Regions from separate parts of the Homo sapiens genome. Here regions 1 and 3 are each linked to region 2. The links are contacts of gene promoters, found by promoter capture Hi-C in blood cells and fetal thymus (Javierre and others, 2016). All regions are on one chromosome and are shown on one strand. The core of a region is centred on a gene start or on the middle of the fragment in contact, and the rest is flanking DNA. Distances in the headings are between cores, read along the strand shown.

Region 1 (3,402 bases), core at 311-2,810, 1.1 Mb before region 2:
GACTTACAGTTCCACATGGCTGGGAGGCCTCAGGAAACTTACAATCATGACAGAAGGCGAAGGGGAAGCAAGGCATGTCTTACATGGCAACAGGAGAGAGAGAGAGAATGTGCAGGGGAAACTGCCACTTTTAAACCATCAGATCTCATGAGGACTCCCTCACCATCGTGAAAACAGCATGCATGATCCAATCACCTCCCACCAGGACCCTCCCTCGACAGTGGGGATTACAATTCAAGATGAGATTTGGGTGGGAACACAGAACCAGAACATATCAGGCTACCATCTGGATAAGGTGGGCACTGGGAAAATGAATCCAGATGTAGATGCTCATGGAAAAGGCACAGTGCCCAAAGGTGAGAGTGATCTCTACATAAGAGTGAGCAAAATGAAATATCAGGATATTTTAGCATGTGGGTGAATTACAACTGGATGTCTGCACAAACATTTGGCACCAGGAAGATCTGCTTGTTTAGGGTGTGGGAACAGGGTTTTATGGAATGTGAGGACATAAAGATTGTCAAGAGTAAAGCCAGCAGTTAGGAGAGGACTGGGAAAGGACTTAGGACAGTGCTCAAAGGGGAAGTCCACCCAGATACACTGGACACAATCAGGGACTGGATTTAAAGTGCATGTCTAGGTAGGAGAACTGAAGTACCACTTAAGGGTTAGATTAAGAAGGATGTTGATGTGTATTCCTAATGGGATCAGCACCAGTGTTAGTCTGGAGGTCATTTAAGCATCTTCAGTTTAAAAACAGGCCTGATACCTGTGGCCTAGGCTGTGGAACAAAAAAAGAATGGAGAGAAAGAGAGTAAGGTTAGGATTCACAGACCTGACCCGCCACTTCATCTTCTCTCTCACCTCTGTCCTCTACAAGATCGAGCCATGTAGGATAACTTGGATACTTGTTCTCCTTAGCTCTCCTTTCTCCCTGCTGCTTGCTTTCTCTAGAATACTCTTCTTCTAATTTCTCTTGTTAAAAATCATACCCATTCATCAAGGCTCAGCTCAAATGCCATTTTCTGCCTTTCCTGTCATGCCTAATGGGGAACTTTAGTACCTTCCTCCTTTTGATCTTCTCTGTCAATTCCATGCCATAGAACTTTCTTTGAAGTTTTATAATCTGCATTGTTCAATACAGCAGACACTAGCCACATGTGGCTATTAAGCACTTGAATGTGACTAGTGACTAAAAAAGTAAAACGTTAATTTTATTAAATTTACATTAATTTAAATAGACACTTGTGGGCAGTAGCTACCGAGTTGAACAATGTAGTTCTATGACATCTTTCATAGCACTTCCTCTTTAACAATTAACAGACAGTTTTCATGCCTAATCTGTGTGAGGCTTGGTGATAGGTATTAGAAATATAGCATGATTATGATACAGTTTCTACCATCGAGAATTAGCACAGATATCCTCCCTTTTACTATAGTGATTGGCACATTTTTCTTATTTATCTTAATATGCTAAAAGCTTCTTTAGGACAAGTATATGTCTTACTTATCTTTGTATTCTCCCTCAGGCCAAAACACAATGCATGCATATTCCAGGTGCTGTAAGTTATTCATACTGAATTGCAAATCTGTTCTCTTGTGAAATATTAACCTAATCCAATGTCTAAAAATGAAGCTTTCATGATCTGTTTTATACTTGAAAACACTGCAGCCATTATTTAATATAATATTCTTACCTGGGCTAAAACAAATCTTCTAATTCAGTTATCAAAAATGAAAGGCCAAAGTGAATGGAGAAGGAAATAATTCAGATAGGAAAAGGGGAAGTCAAATTGTCTCTGTTCACAGATGACATGATTGTATATTTAGAAAACCTCACCGTCTCAGCCCAAATCTCCTTAAGCTTATCAAAGCAACTTCAGCAAAGTCTCAGGATACGAAATCAATGCACAAAAATCACAAGCATTCCTATACACCAATAACAGACAAACAGAGAGCCAAATCATGAGTGAACTCCCATTCACAATTGCTACTAAGAGAATAAAATACCTAGGAATACAACTTACAAGGAATGTGAAGGACCTCTTCAAGGAGAACTACAAACCACTGCTCAAGGAAATAAGGGAGGACACAAACAAATGGAAAAACATTTCATGCTCATGGATAGGAAGAATCAATATCGTGAAAATGGCCATAACTGCCCAAAGTAATTTATAGATTCAATGCTATCCCCATCAAGCTACCTATTGACTTTCTCCACAGAATTGGAAAGAACTGCTTTAAAGTTCATATGGAACCAAAAAAGAGCCCGCATAGCCAAGACAATCCTAAGCATAAAGAACAAAGCTGGAGGCATCACACTACCTGACTTCAAACTATACTACAAGGCTACAGTAACCAAAAGAGCATGGTACTGGTACCAAAACAGACATATAGACCAATGGAACAGAACAGAGCCCTCAGAAATAACACCACACATCTACAACCATCTGATCTTTGACAAACCTGACACAAACAAGCAATGGGGAAAGGATTCCCTATTTAATAAATGGTGCTGGGAAAACTGGCTAGCCATATGCAGAAAACTGAAACTGGACCCCTTCCTTACACCTTATACAAAAATTAACTCAAGGTGGATTAAAGACTTAAACATAAGACCTAAAACCATAAAAGTCCTAGAAGAAAACCTAGGCAATACCATTCAGGACACAGGCATGGGCAAAGACTTCATATCTAAAACATCAAAAGCAATGGCAACAAAAGCCAAAATTGACAAATGGGATCTAATTAAACTAAAGAGCTTCTGCACAGCAAAAGAAACTATCATCAGAGTGAACAGACAACCTACAGAACGAGAGAAAATTTTTGCAATCTATCCATCTGACAAAGGGCTAATATCCAGAATCTACAAAGGACGTAAACAAATTTACAAGCAAAAAACAACCCCATCAAAAAGTGGGCAAAGGATATGAACAGACACTTCTCAAAAGAAGACATTTATGCAGCCAACAAACATGAAAAAAAGCTCATCATCACTGGTCATTAGAGAAATGCAAATCAAAACCACAATGAGATACCATCTCATGCCAGTTAGAATGGTGATCATTAAAAAGTCAGGAAACAACAGATGCTGGAGAGGATGTGGAGAAATAGGAATGCTTTTACACTGTTGGTGGGAGTGTAAATTAGTTCAACCATTGTGGAAGGCAGTGTGGCGATTCCACAAGGACCTAGAACTAGAAATACCATTTAACTCAGCAATCCCATTAGTGGGTATATACCCAAAGGATTATAAATCACGTTGCTATAAAGACACATGCACATGTATGTTTATTGCAGCACTATTCACAATAGCAAAGACTTGGAACCAACCCAAATGTCCATCAGTGATAGACTGGATTAAGAAAATGTGGCACATATACACCATGGAATACTATGCAG
Region 2 (3,511 bases), core at 532-3,031:
AAGCTCAAGTGTGTAGGGCCAAGAGCCACAAAATTACTAGGCTGTGGCCAACAAACCACTTTTGCAATACCCAGACACTAGGTTCAGTCAACATTCTTTCTCATCAGGAGCACTAATAGTGTAATTTGTGACTTAAAAGAAAGTGAATTCTCTGAGTCAGTGACTATTACCTAATTGCTTGAAGGATTTTTTCCAGACAGGTGGTCTGGAAACCTTTTACCTATTACCTTCCATCCCTGAACCATTTCAATCTTCTGCCTCCTGGATATCTTGGAGAAAATGAACCAACACAACACAGCTTTCAGTTTTTAGAGCATTTCCCCCATACAGAACATTGTCTTACTTGATCTTCCCGATGACCTCAACAACAGGAAAGGCAGGTCCTTTCATTTCCATTTATAAGACGCACAGACCCAGGATTATCTAGCCACAGGAAGCAGGACTCCAGATTTCAAGTCCAGCATCTCAACGTGACAACCTTGGTAACTCTGCATGAACGGACTGGATAGTAAAGTGGAATTATTACTGAGAACTGCAATGAATAAAATCTTTTGCATTTTTTGCCTACGTTTCACAGAGGGTGATATTTTTCTGAGGCAATTAAATTTATACCACGGCCACAATACTGAAACGTTCTGACCAACAAAGTCATGCTCCTGCATCTACACAGCAGATAACTGCAGAAACGGCTTCCTTTCTTCCTTGTAAAATTGCCTGAAAACAGCTCCCCCTTGCTGTCCGTCGAGGCATATCTTCACCAACGTTAAAACAGAGCTGAGGGAGATCGCATTTCTGCCTCCCTCCCGCCCTGCAGAGGGGCTCCAGCTGTTCAGAGTAACGGATTACTAGGTAGGTGGTTGTTTCCCCTCCTTCCCAGGGCCTCTTTCCTCTCTTTGAGATTGCCTCTTTCTTACTCCTGAGCACAGGAGCCGGGCGGGTTTTCTGTCCCTTGCCCTGGACAGCACTGCCTGGATGGCCGCTGTCCGGCAGCTGCTCTTTGTCCACCCAAAAAGATGTCCCCACGACTCAGTAGTAACCAGACGGTCCCCACGGACCACTGCGGCCAAATTTCCGCCATCCCCGCTGTGGGAATCAGGCTTTTCCCGCAGAAAACCCCAGGAATCTAGAGAAAACTCCTTAAGTCCCTAGTCTCCATAGAGAAAACCAGGAGACACTCCCCCCAAACCCCGCTGTGAATACAGGCACAGCAGCCACTGGGGCTGCAAAGTGATGAGTGCGTTCTTCCCGTCGCAAACATAGGGTAATAAATAGCATGCATCAAAGACGTTACTAGGAAGAGATAGCTCTTTAAGTCACGAGCGGGGAGAAATGTTTGCCCCGGGAAAATTTGCCTGGGGAATAAAATTTGCCAGACTGCTGCACGGGTGAGCTCGGTGAGAAGGAAGAAACCCGGACTGGAGGAGGTGAGGTCGAGAGCCAGGTTCAGGTGCAGGAGCTAGATGCGTGGACGCCGGTGCGTGGACTGGAGGTTTCCAGGTACCGCGCTTAGCGTGCCTGTTGAAGTCAAATGCATGGTTAAGGAGGCTAGCGAGGAAGGCTAGTGAGGGAAGCTTGTGGAAACGGCTACGAGCCCAGAAAAGGCATGACTCGTCCAGTTGTCCAAGTTTTTGGAAGGGAAAAGCGGGAAAGCGCCACGATCCCACCTACTGTGAGGAGGAATCTGCGAGTCTCCCAGCTCCACCCCCTCCACAGTGATGCAGAGGACAAACACCGACGTAGGGAGAGGAAAAAATAAAACTCCAGGGAGCGGGGAGTAGGCAACCAGCAGTCTTCCGGCAATAGGGCGGGAGGGAGCGCGTCCCAAGGAAACAAGCACCGCATAAATACTTGAGTTGGGAACCCAGTGCTTCCGGAAGCTCGGAGCTCACCTTCCCGACCTCGCCGAAGTTGAAAAAAGGCAGAGCAGGGAGAGGGGCCAGCTCACCCTGCTGAGAGCTGCTCAGTGGGCAGGCGGGACGCTGCTCCGGGAGACGCCCACTGGAGGGATCGCAGAGCCCGGCAAGCTGCGAGCGCGCCAAAGACCCTGCGCTTCGGACGAGGAGCCCAAGTCCTCCGAGACGGGGAGGGAGCGGCCCGCGAGGGCTGGAGCTCCGAAGAGGGCCGAGTAGGAGCTGCATGGACAGCATGCGTCTCTCCGCCGGTCCCGACGCGGGGCCCTCGGGCAACTCCAGCCCATGGTGGCCTCTGGCCACCGGCGCTGGCAACACAAGCCGGGAGGCCGAAGCCCTCGGGGAGGGCAACGGCCCACCGAGGGACGTGCGCAACGAGGAGCTGGCCAAACTGGAGATCGCCGTGCTGGCGGTGACTTTCGCGGTGGCCGTGCTGGGCAACAGCAGCGTACTGCTGGCTCTGCACCGGACGCCGCGCAAGACGTCCCGCATGCACCTCTTCATCCGACACCTCAGCCTGGCCGACCTGGCCGTGGCATTCTTCCAGGTGCTGCCGCAAATGTGCTGGGACATCACCTACCGCTTCCGCGGCCCCGACTGGCTGTGCCGCGTGGTGAAGCACCTGCAGGTGTTCGGCATGTTTGCGTCGGCCTACATGCTGGTAGTCATGACAGCCGACCGCTACATCGCGGTGTGCCACCCGCTCAAGACTCTGCAACAGCCCGCGCGCCGCTCGCGCCTCATGATCGCGGCCGCCTGGGTGCTGAGCTTCGTGCTGAGCACGCCGCAGTACTTCGTCTTCTCCATGATCGAGGTGAACAATGTCACCAAGGCCCGCGACTGCTGGGCCACCTTCATCCAGCCCTGGGGTTCTCGTGCCTACGTGACCTGGATGACGGGCGGCATCTTTGTGGCGCCCGTGGTCATCTTGGGTACCTGCTACGGCTTCATCTGCTACAACATCTGGTGCAACGTCCGCGGGAAGACGGCGTCGCGCCAGAGCAAGGGTGCAGAGCAAGCGGGTGTGGCCTTCCAAAAGGGGTTCCTGCTCGCACCCTGTGTCAGCAGCGTGAAGTCCATTTCCCGGGCCAAGATCCGCACGGTGAAGATGACTTTTGTGATCGTGACGGCTTACATCGTCTGCTGGGCGCCTTTCTTCATCATCCAGATGTGGTCTGTCTGGGATCCCATGTCCGTCTGGACCGGTACGTGCCGGGAAAATAGAGGAAAGTGCAGGGATAGGAGTGTGTGTGTGTGTGTGTGTGTGTGTGTGAGAGAGAGAGAGAGAGAGAGAGAGAGAAAAAAATGAGAATCTAGCAATTTTCTTCATAGTATCTTCTAGGGCAGTAGTTTTTAAACTTCTATGTGTACATAAGAGTCGCACCTTGGAGGAACACTGTTTAAAAAAAAAAAAAGCATATTCCTGGATTCCCCATGCAGACATTCTAATTAAGAATGTCTGGAATGGGGCTCAGGACTCTGCATTTGTAGTGTGCAATGATCCTAAGACCACAATTCCAGAAACTGTGTCCTAGAGTCAGCCAAGCAACTACAAAGCCGAAGAATGACTTTTGCTAAATCACTAGCTACTGTATTAACAC
Region 3 (3,457 bases), core at 376-2,875, 1.1 Mb before region 2:
CATCCTCAAGAGCTGTCTGCGGCACAGCAGGACTCTAGCTGAGTATATTAGGAATAACTACAGAGAAGAATTCAGGTAAGAAAAAATGTCTGAATCTAATCTGCAGTAAGATTTCACTCATTTCTGAGTTCATGCAAACCTGCAACATGGTCCAATATTTAGAAGATTAGGTATTTATCAGGAATTCTTTTTTGTTTGTTTGTTCTTTTTGAGATGGAGTCTTGCTCTGTCACCCAGGCTGGAATACAGTGGTGCAATCTTGGCTCACTGCAACCTCTGCCTCCCAGATTTGAGCAATTCTCCTGCCTCAGCCTCCTGAGTAGTTGGGATTACAGGCGCCCGCCACCATGCCTGGCTAATTTTTTTTTTGTATTTTTAGTAGAGACAGGGTTTCACCATGTTGGTCAGGCTGATCTCGAACTCCTAACCTGATGATCCACCCACCTCAGCCTCCCAAAGTGCTGGGATTACAGGTGTGAGCCACCGCACCTGGCCTATTTTTGTTTTTAATAATATTTCACTTTGATCTGTGAAAATGGTAGGATTTTGGGGACCTCTAAGAACCATTGCCATTTGAAGTATATTCCCAGGCCAGAAAAGACTAGTGAAACATCAAACTCTCTTTGAAGAACGGTTTGTCACTCATTGTCTTTATTGTAGCTGCATCTCACGGAAGTAGTAATAATTTTAACCTGCTGTGAGTAATTAAGAGTAATAAACTTGGCTGGGCATGGTGGCTCATGCCTGTAATCCTAGCACTGTGGGAGGCTGAGCCGGGCAGATTACTTGAGGTCAGGAGTTTGAGACCAGGCTGAGCAACATGGTGAAACCCCGTCTCTACTAAAAATACAAAAATAAGCTGAGCCTGGTGGTGCACGCCTGTAATCCCAGCTATTCGGGAGGCTGAGGCAGGAGAATCACTTGAACCCAGGAGGCAGAGGTTGCAGTGAGCTGAGATCATGCTGACACACTCCAGCCTGGGCAACGGAGGGATATTCCGCCTCAAAAAAAAAAAAGTGTAAATAAACTTCACTGAAGAGGATAATAAATTATGGATTGTGACTTACAATTGAGTTATTGGACAGAAGCAATTGATAAAGGAGTAACAATTAATGAACATGGTTATCAGGGGTTTTGTTTGTTTCACTTACCCCTCTCAGTAACAGAACAGTAAGAAAGAACAGTAGCCAGCATTGGCTTCATCTGCCAGCCTGTTCTCCTGCACCTCAGGGGTTCCATTTCTATTTATAGGCTGCCAAAGCCAAGTGCACTTAGCAGTGCAGCCCTGCATAGCACCCATTAAGGAGAAAACCCAGGTTGTCTCTGACTTAAGATGAAAAGGGTACAGCGGACACAGCTTTGTCATTTGTTTGGATGAAGACGTAAAAGGATGTGGAGACATAAATTACAGCCTTAGATTGTCTTTTTTTAAAAAAAAACTACAGTCCAATTTATAGACTTTTTTTTTTTTGACACAGGGTCTCACTCTGCCACCTAGGCTGGAGTGTAGTGCTGTGATCTCGGCTTATCACAATCTCTGCCTCCTGGGCTCAAGCAATGCCCCCTTCCACTTCAGCCTCCTGAGTAGTTGGGACTACAGGCATGCACCATCACGCCTAGCTAATTTTTGTATTTTTAGTAGAGATGGAGTTTTGTCATGTTGGCCAGGCTAGTCTTGAACTCCTGGCCTCAAGTGATTCACCTGCCTCGGCCTCCTAAAGTGCTAGGATTACAGGTGTGAGCCACCACACTCAGCCATGGACTTTTTGTCTTCCATGAGGTGTTCCATTCTGACTCCCATAAAAGGGATTTGTTTGGCTCTGAGCTCGTCCAAACAACCCAATTCCCATCTCTTCCCTCTTGCACCTCCTCACTTAAAAAAATATATATATTAAGGTAAATTTCACATAGTATGAAATTTACCATTTTAAAATATACAATTCCATAGTTTTTAAATTCACCATATTTTGCAACTGTCATAACTATCTAATTGCACACCATTTTCATCACCTCAAAAGAAACTCAGTATCCATTAAGCAATCACACCACATATTCTCCTCCTCCTAACCCCTGGAAACCACTAATTTACTTTCTGTTGTGATGGATTTGCCTATTCTGGACATTCTACATAAATGGAGCGTATAATATGTGATCTTTTGTGTCTGACTTCACTGAGCTTAATGTTTTCAAGGTTCATCCACATTGTAGCATGTATCATACAACTCAATTTTTAAAACTTAGATACAAACATCTGAAAATCAGGACAACTGGCAAAGTGGTGTCACACTTGTGAGATGACAACAGTTAGGCAGAACTCCTGCAGCTACCCCCTTAGGTGCATCATGTACTGTTTAGTTTGCCACCATCTCCTCTCTCTCTTGCTTACTCTTACCCCCTAAATTACATTACTGGTAGCCATTTAGGTGTGGATTCTTGTTTTAAACTAGTGTTTTCAACTCACATTGCATTGGAATTATCTGAGCAACTACAGGTTGAGCATCCCTAAACCAAAAATCCAAAATTTGCAATGCTCCAAAATCCGAAATCATTTGAACACCAACATGATGCTCAAAGTAAATGCTCATTGTAGCATTTCAGATTTTACATGTTCATATTAGGGATGCTCAACCATTAAGTATAATGCAGATACTCCAAAATCTGAAAAAATCTGAAATCCGAAACACATCTGATTGCAATCATTTTGGATAAGAGATACTCAACCTATTAAAAAAATACTGATAACCAGGTGTCACACGTAGAAATTCTGTTTCCATTTGTCTGGCGTGGTACCAGGGCTGTGAGATTTTAAAGATAAAGCTCTCCAGGTGATTCCAATGTGCATCAGGGTTGAGAACCATTCTTTTAAGTCATCCAAGGGGATGGTTGAAGTCTTTCTCATTTTTGCCTCTTCCTCTGGCCTTTCCTAGGCTTTTACTGAGGCCGTGGGGGATGAGTTCTACTCTTCCCTCTTGACTTGGCCCTAGTAGTCACCACAGCTTGACCCTTTCATTTCAACACCTCACTGCGCATTGCCTGATAAACCAAGAAGCAGGAGCCTCTGCTCATACTGTGGTGAGGACAGTCCACATGTCAGAGATTTTCTAGGTCACAAATGGGGGAGATTGGAGGGACAGTCCACATGTCAGAGATTTTCTAGGTCACAAATGGGGGAGATTGGAGATCTGAAAATGCTGACCAAGTCTTGTAGCTTAGATTCCCACACCCAACAACCCTAGCCAGTGAGTGTGAATGTACTCAAGTGACCAATGTGAAAATTCTTGTTTTTAAAACTCTCTATTTTGTTTCTTTTTATGATTTGCAGGTACTTTATTCACATGCCAGCCTTGCAGAAAAGGCTCCCATTGTGTTACCCCATCACTCAACCTACCATTCAACTTTTTCATGAAGTTCTGAAATTGGTTGAATAGAAACAAACAATGTACGCAATGTTAATAAG

What was found. Contacts are between HindIII fragments. The CHiCAGO score rates a contact against its expected background, and 5 or more counts as called.
Region 1: a fragment that was not itself captured here is called in contact with the fragment with the promoter of AVPR1A in region 2 in 2 of 17 cell types (M1 macrophages and M0 macrophages); the score reaches 5.7 in M1 macrophages.
Region 3: a contact is called between a fragment that was not itself captured here and the fragment with the promoter of AVPR1A in region 2, in 1 of 17 cell types (M2 macrophages). The highest score is 6.9, in M2 macrophages.

What each region holds. Positions count from the first base shown.
Region 1 is chr12:64,297,731-64,301,132 of GRCh38, reverse strand. The region is part of intron 6 of C12orf56 (chromosome 12 open reading frame 56); the gene reads left to right. Among named protein-coding and RNA genes, the nearest start is that of KICS2, 77 kb to the right of the region's middle. The HindIII fragment of the contact is 156 bases long and covers 1,483-1,638 here.
Region 2 is chr12:63,149,471-63,152,981 of GRCh38, reverse strand. AVPR1A (arginine vasopressin receptor 1A) reads left to right here and starts at 1,781. Exons shown (of 2, transcript NM_000706.5): 1 at 1,781-3,115. The coding sequence starts at 2,146. The HindIII fragment of the contact is 3,248 bases long and covers 1,574-3,511 here.
Region 3 is chr12:64,267,154-64,270,610 of GRCh38, reverse strand. It overlaps C12orf56 (chromosome 12 open reading frame 56), which reads left to right. Exons shown (of 13, transcript NM_001170633.2): 12 at 1-75; 13 at 3,323-3,457. The coding sequence ends at 3,428. Among named protein-coding and RNA genes, the nearest start is that of KICS2, 47 kb to the right of the region's middle. The HindIII fragment of the contact is 5,943 bases long and covers 1-3,457 here.